Linked DNA regions of Homo sapiens: region 2 is linked to region 1. The links are contacts of gene promoters, found by promoter capture Hi-C in human tissues and cell types (Jung and others, 2019). All regions are on one chromosome and are shown on one strand. The core of a region is centred on a gene start or on the middle of the fragment in contact, and the rest is flanking DNA. Distances in the headings are between cores, read along the strand shown. Region 1 holds the start of ADCY8 (adenylate cyclase 8). Region 2 has its middle 97 kb from the start of IADEN.

Region 1 (3,801 bases), core at 120-2,619:
CCGTAGCCGAGGCCTGCTGCCAGGATCTGGGTGGTCATGGCCACCCAGGTGACCACGCCGCTGTACTGCAGGTACGTGTGGGAGGTGGTGTCCTTCCTGACCACCACCAGGGCGCAGATCACTACCTCAATGCCGGTGAAGAAGCCCAGCAGGATGCCCTTGAGCGGGTCCATGGGGGCCGAGGCCAGGCTCAAGTGTAGGACCAAGAGAGTGAGTTTGGTCAGCACGTCCAGCACGTTCATCACCACTTCCGATTTGCGCCTTTGGCCCAAGAAATAGCGCTGGTAGAGGCGTTCCAAATCCCGAGATTTGAAGGAGTTGCGCAGGGTGGGGAAAATGACCCCTCGGTAGCTATAGCCCCCATTAAGAAAGAAATCCGAGTTGCTAGGGGCACAGTCAAGGTGCAGGAAGCCCAGGTCGCCCCCGCCTCCGCTGCCGCTGGCACTGCCGCTCCCGCTGCGTTCCGGGAAGACTTTGGTGCCGCAGGTGCTGTGCGCTCGCTCTCCCGGGCCCAGCGAGTAGAGGGGCAGCGCCGAGTCGCCTGACAGCTGCGGCGCGTGGTGGTTGGGGCCGCCGCCCGCAGGGTCCGAGGCTTTGCCCGAGCCTCCACTCCCGCTGCCGCTGCCTCCCCGGTGCCCGTGAATGAAGCGCTGCTCCGTGATGTGTCGCACCGCCGTCTGCCACAGCAGCCGCTGCGGCCGGGAGGCGCTCCTGCCGTCGCCGGCCGGGGGCGTCGGGTGGATGGTGTAGAGTTCCTCGCTGCCTGTAAGGCAGCGCACATCGGAGAGCTCCATGGCTCTGGGCCGCAGGGAAGGAGGCCCAGAACCTTGGGGAGGCAGCCGGAGGAGGGGTTCCTAAAGACTCAAAGGCGGCCTGGTAGGAGCTTGGCAAGGATCCTTTTTATCCTAGGCTGCCCCGTTGCAGGAGCCCTGCGCTAGGGCTCCCTGTAGGTCGGGTCATACTGTGCCCAGGGGCAAAGGGCACCTGGAAGATCGCGGCGGACCTCGGCGTCCTTGCGTGCTGCTCTCCCGCCAGCCGGCGCAGCTTGGGTACGCAGCGGCAGTGGCTATTTGTCCTCAGGAGCCGCAGCGCTGTGAGCCACGCAGCCCCTTCCTGGGCTCAGGCTCCTTGGTTGATTCTAGGCTCAGCGTTTTGGCGCAGCCTTTGCTCTCCAAGAGACGCCTAAGCGCCTGGGCGCCGTGCTTCTGCTGCGCGTCGGGCGGGTCCTGGCTGCTGCACTGGGCTTTGGACGCCCACTGCTCCGCGGCTGCAGGGGGCCTGGCCGGCGGTGACCGGCGGCAGCGATGGGTGCGAAGTTAGCAGATGTGGCTGGAATCATCGCCCTTCGGAGAACTCCATTGCGCCGGGATGGGGAGCAGGGGCGGAGCTGGGGGCGGGGGCAAAGAAGGAGGAGGAGGGGGTCACGGTGAGGTGGCGGGGCGCCCCGCGACAGGGTTGGAGAGGTGGTAGCCTCGGCGCTAACAATTCACCAAATAGTTAATTTGGAGGAAGGGGTATGCTGAGGCTCCCTCCTAGGCTCTTTCCTAGTTCGGGAGCAAGGACTGACAGCGCAGCGCTGGCTCTGGCCAGAAGCATCCCTCCCGGAGGGGGTGTGGGGACTCTCGCTCCAGGGTCCCAGCCTGAGCTATAAGACGAGGTCAACGCTTTCAGCTGTGCTTTCGAAGGGTCGCAGCACACAGTTCTCATCCCCTTTATTTCGTTCTTTGGAGTCCATTTGGCTCGGAGCTAGGAGGATCAGGAGAGGCGGGGGAAGGAAAAAGTGGTGAGGGCTCCAAAGCCAAGAGCTCCGAGAACGAAGAGAAGCCGCCGGTGCGGATATCTGAGGCTGAGAACCGAAGCTTGGCGGATGAGGCGAAGGTTTGGAGGAGAAGGGAGGCCCGAGGCCGCGTGGAAGTCGACAGAGACGCCTCTGGATCTAGGGAAGCGCCGCCGCGTGCCACCCTGGAGCTCTGAAACGCACCGCGGGCGCCAGGCGACTGGGAGAAATTTGGAGACCTGTCAGAGTGGTCAGACACCCGCGGTGACTTAAACCCGCCCCCGCGCCAAGCCACGCCCCCGGAACCGGGCCGGGGGTGGCGGAGGGACCTGCCATCCAGATCTGGCCAGGACGCCCCAGGTCTTGTAGGCAGAGGCACGCGCGGGCCGGCGTGGGAGAGGACCACTGAGGGCTAGGGCCGGCGGGCGCCCCCGGCCTTCCCTGGGCGCACTGCGATCCAGCGTTCCAGCTGGCCGCGCCAGCCGGTTCCTCCGCTGTTCTTTTTTAGGCATTGGCTCTTGTCCTCTGCAGGTGCGGAGCCAGGACTCGTAGGCCGCTTTGCGCACGGACTCGGAGAGCCCAGCGCGACGGAATACAGGGTTTCCTTTTCGCCCTTCCTACCCGTGCGTCTTTTGGCAAAGCCAACTTTCGGGCTAAACGCAAAATCCCCCAAGAGGCCGCAATCATAGAGGCAGTCAGTTTCCTACAGGAGCCTCTTTACTACCTCGATCCGAAGGGGGTGGAGGGTACGGGACATCAAAATGGGGACGTCCCCTGCCTGCCTCGCACACTAAGTTTCTCCGCTTACAATAGGGTCGAGGAGGCGGACGTGGAGAAAGGCATGTCCAGGGGCCCCGCCTCGCCCTAGCCCAGGTTTCCCGCCCGCCCAGACTCAGCCGAGCGCTAGCGGACAAAGCCTGCGGCGGAGCTTGCGGCGGACCAAGTCGCTGAGCGGTGGGAGCTTAGTGCCGGTGCTAATGACAGATGAGCCGCGTCCCGGGGTGCAGGGTCTGCAGGGCAAACGCGGCCGCCGCAGTCCCGCAGCCGGATGCAGGTGGAGGAGCGGTGGTGGTCACCACCTCCTCCACCAAGACTGCGGCTGCAGCCAGTGGAGCCCGGGCCCAGAGCACAGTCAGCTGATGGCCAATGACGTCAGGCCCTGGGCGCGTTCGCGGCTCCCCGTGGCGTCCCATGAAAGCCCAAATGACCGCCTTGCCTTGCCGCCCCCTCAGTCCCTCCTGAGCAAGAAGAGAAGCTCCCTTCCCTCCTGCCTGTCCTAAGGAAAAATAATTTCGATACCCCCACCCCCAACCACATACACTGTCTCCAGGGTTATTTCTGTCGGCCGTGTCCCAGAAACGCGGGGTTTAATTCTTTGCTTTTTAATTCCTGTTTTTCTCCCCACGCATTTCGGCTTCGGGTTAAACCCAAAACGGGCCACCTGCCTTGCACACAGAATTCCAGAAGGAAGAGAAAAGAATCCTCTAATATTCCCCCCAATCCCTAACCAGTAGATTTCTAGAATTTCGTTCACTCCCTGGAAAAGACTTCTTTAATTTCAATCCTTTTAAGTTGTATTCTACCATCCCCCAAGAAAGCCAAAATGAAACGCTCAACTTTAAATAGATAGACGGCTGATTCTATTTTTAACTCTGCTTGTAGATGAATTAATCTGTTAACATTAAAGATCTCCCAGAATAGTTGGCCTATCCCATGGGCCTGGAAGTTAAGGGTAAAAGTACCTCAAACAACTCTGTGTTACAGTTATCTAGCCCTTAATGAAATAACCCCTGCAATTACATTCCTGTCAAAGAAATGCTTCTTGCTTCTTCCTTCCTGAATTTCTTGGACTCATCAGCCTCACCCTACTGGAACTCGGGTGGGTAATGAGTCTCTTAACTTGAGATGGGAACCCAGACGGAGCACAGCTGGGAAGGCTGTCCTATAGACCCTATGCCAGAATGTGTGGGTAGCTGTGTCCTCTCTCTGCGGGCATTGCCCGAAGGCATCTGTGCTAATGACCA
Region 2 (3,889 bases), core at 895-3,394, 370 kb after region 1:
ATGGAGAATGGGGTATCCACCTCCTCAGCCTTTGTCCTTTGTGTTACAAACAATCCAATTACACTCCTTTCATTATTTAAAAATGTACAATTAAGTTATTGACTATAGTCACCCTGTTGTGCTATCAAATAGTGGGTCTTATTCATTCTTTCTATTTTTTTATAATCATTAACCATCCCCACCTCTCCCCATTCCCCCACTACCCTTTTCAGCCTCTGGTAATCATCCTTCTTCTCTCTATGTCCATAAGTTCAATTGTTTTGATTTTTACATCACACAAATAAGTGAGATCATGTGATGTTTGTATTTCTGTGCCTGACTATTTCAGTGAGCATAATGATCTCCAGTTCCATTCCTGTTGTTGCAAATGACGGATCTCATTCTTTTTAATGGCTGAATAGTACTCCATTGTGTATATATACCATATTTTCTCTATCTGGTCATCTGTTGATGGACACTTAGGTTGCTTCCAAATCTTAGCTATTGTGAACAGTGCTGCAACAAAGAGTGCAGATGTATCTTCAATATACTGATTCCCTGTCTTTTGGGTTTATACCCAGTAGTGGGATTGCTGGAACATATAGTAGCCCTATTTTTAGTTTTTTTTGAGAAATCTTCAAACTGTTCTCCATAGTTGTTGTTCTAAGGTACATTCCCACCAACACTGCATGAGGGTTCCCTTTCCTCTGCATGCTTGCCAGCATTCATTATTGCCTGTCTTTTGGATAAAAGCCATTTTAATTGGTGTAAGATGATATTGTGGATTTGATTTGCATTTCCTCTATGATCAGTGATGTTGAGCACCTTTTCATATAACTGTTTGTCACTTGTATGTCTTCTTTTGAGAAATGTCTATTCTGATCTTTTGTCCATTTTTTAATCAGATTATTAGATTTTTTCTACAAAGTTGTTTGAGCTCCTTATATATTTTGGTTATTAATCCCCTGTCAGATGGGTAGGTGGCAAATATTTTCTCCCATTCTGTGGGTTGTCTCTCCACTTTGTTGATTGTTTCCTTTGCTGTGCAGAAGCTTTTTAACTTGATGTGATCCCAAGTGTCCATTTTTGTTTTGGTTGCCTGTGCCAGTTGAATATTGTTCAATAAATAGATTATTTGATTTTATTATGTTATTTTCTTATATAGAACCTCTGTGTTGGTTCAAAATATACAAAAATATTATGAATTATTCATTCACTCAAAATATATTTAGTTAGCATTTACATAATAAGTAATTATCCAGCATCCACCTATATTTCTATCTAGAGTGCCTGCTACCCCTAAGGTCACTCATTCCATTGCTGTGTAGATTTTCTTTGTATATGGTCCAGATGCCCTCTAAAGCATCCTCTCCTTCATTCTGGCATCTGTTTGAAGTTATCGTGAATAAATGTACAATTTTATTCTATTCATTTATTTCATTTTTCAAGAGCAGCGTAAATCTTTGCAGATCAATTATTAACCCAGCTAAATCATCCCTGAATTTTAGCTATTCTTTTATTTTTATTTTATAGTTTAAAAACTCATAGAAATAAAACTATAGACATCATAGAAGATAAACTTTTGGAGAAAACAATTTTATATATAACCAATATTAACATATGATATAATCTCCCATACTTTGTCTTATGCTTAGGTGTATACATATGATAATTTCTAAACAAATATTCATTCAAGTTTATACAATACACTCTATATTATAAACTTTCTGCATCAGTAAACAGCAATTTAAGATTTCATTTTATGGCTACATATTACACCGTTGTGAACACTATAATGTATTTAACTAATCACAATTTTAAGAATTCATTGAATTTCCAATAGCTCAAAATGCAAAAAAAAAAACAAAAAAAAAAAAAACCAGCAATTTTGCAATGTTATCTTTGCTGCACTTGTTCTTTTTTTGAATAAATTTCTAGGAGTGTGAGAGTTGTGTCACAGCACATCAGCACATACAGTTTTTAAAGTTCTTGTGTGTGCTTCCAAGATACATCCAGAAATACTGTAGCAGTCAATTTTCATTTCAACAGTGCATAAGAAGGACTTTCCCCCTACAACCACACTAACACTGGGTATTACAATTTTCTCTTTCAAAACAGTGCATCAACTGTCACCTATTTGTCCTGGGGAGCCATTCCAATTTGCTAGCGTTTCTCAAAATGTTGGCTGTTTGTAATTAATTATGGTTTTAAGTGCAAAATGGCTGATGCAGAGTAGGACTGATTTATGCCTTCCTTGTTCTAAATACAATTTCCCTAAATAAAACTACGATTACAAAGGTTTCTGGCAGCACTATCAAACTGGTTTATCACAAAGGAGTTGAGCTCATTACCATCATTCATATAGTCCCTTTATTTTATCTTATAACTTCCGATGTCAACTTTTACAACCCAAAGCACTGCACTCAAGTTAAACAAATCAACTCCAAAAACTAGAATTAAAGAATCCTCACTTCCTACAAGTTAAAATGAGAATCTTCAGTGCAATACAAATAACATGAAAAATTAGCTGGGAGGAAACATCCAAAAGGGAACTTCAGATAGAAAACAATTAGCTTTGTTCCTCCAGCAGGCAAAAGAATATTGTGGCTTCAATTTTTCTTTTGATTCCATTTAATTTTCTTTCATTGGCAATTATCCTATTAAACTGGCTCTTTTGTTTTTGCATAAGTAATTAATCCCTCAGAGCTCAAGATTACCTCCTTCAATGGCAAAATTTAGCCCTGTGCAGTTTTTCCAGGATTTTGAAGGCTGCAAAGCTCTTGTAAAAGTGACCGTGCTCTAGACTTTTCCTGAGATCAGTCTCCTAGAGACCCTGGGAAGGAAACTCTCTGAGCATCTATTAAAGGAGAGAAATAAAGTGTATGTAGCTACTATTTCCAGGTGTGAGGTTTTTGCCTGCAGCCCATTTAAGAAGCTAGTGCTCTAATTTTAAAACTCAAATTTAGTTCAAGCAGTATTTATTGAGTACATACTACAGGGTGAGGACTGAGGACTCTGAGAAAGGATTATTTCTTGCCTTAAAAACAAAATAAAACAAAAACCAAAAAATTATAGCTGGTGAAATGCACATAATTTTGAGAATAGAAAAGACCAGTGGGTTTTGGAGTTTGGAAAAAAGACCAATCTCTGTTCAAATCACAGATTTGCTACTACCTGACTCTGTAGCCTTGGACAACCTTCAAAGTCTCAGCTTATTCACCTAGATTCCAGACCAAGAAATGAGGATGGTGAAATCTGAAACAAGTGGATGAACTAGGTAAGAGTCTTGTAAATACCATGGGATCATCATCGTCAAAGGGGTATTCACTGGTAGCAGTAATATAAGGAAACCCCATCACAAGGTAAAATACAGATATCAAAATTTAAACAACATATGGTTGTATTATGGGGATGTTAAAGCAAGGATCAAGGCAAGCCTGTGCAGACAGCTAGTCAGGAGTTCCGCCCGGCCTTCTGTGCTCTCCAATTATTTCCGTGTTTCTATTTAGTTTGGGGCCAACAGGATGTGGTCTACTTCAGCTTGACTGTTGAGGGGATTATTGTGATTATGCTTCTGTGGCCCACCGGAGCTTGAAGGACAAAAAAATCTTATTCCAAAAATCTCCTGGCTGGAGACCGGGAGATTGATCCAATCCAGAGAGACATGAAACACCAGGGGGCTATTAGAGGTATTAGGGATGTGAAGATCTTATTTGTCCTTTCTTGCATTTTCTCTGCTATTTGTTGCCTGACTTTACTCTCACTTTCATCTCTTCCTTCTCCTGTGCAAAGTAAGAATTTTAGCTCACCCTGTTTGATGGTGGCTGAACCAAGACAGAAAGTATCCTCATTATGGCAGAATTTATATCTTTGTGGAGAACAGTATTAAAGGGGTCAGGAGCTAGTGTTA

The links. Contacts are between HindIII fragments. The study calls those that stand out against the background at their distance.
Region 2: a contact is called between a fragment that was not itself captured here and the fragment with the promoter of ADCY8 in region 1, in 2 of the 25 tissues and cell types used here (bladder and dorsolateral prefrontal cortex).

Annotation. Positions count from the first base shown.
Region 1 is chr8:131,039,540-131,043,340 of GRCh38, forward strand. It overlaps ADCY8 (adenylate cyclase 8), which reads right to left and starts at 1,370. Exons shown (of 18, transcript NM_001115.3): 1 at 1-1,370. The coding sequence starts at 794. LOC105375760 (a long non-coding RNA gene) reads left to right here. Exons shown (of 6, transcript XR_928653.3): 1 at 1-71. RefSeq lists enhancers at 570-1,109, 1,110-1,648. The HindIII fragment of the contact is 7,762 bases long and covers 295-3,801 here.
Region 2 is chr8:131,407,630-131,411,518 of GRCh38, forward strand. No RefSeq gene overlaps it. Among named protein-coding and RNA genes, the nearest start is that of IADEN, 97 kb to the left of the region's middle. The HindIII fragment of the contact is 9,537 bases long and covers 1-3,889 here.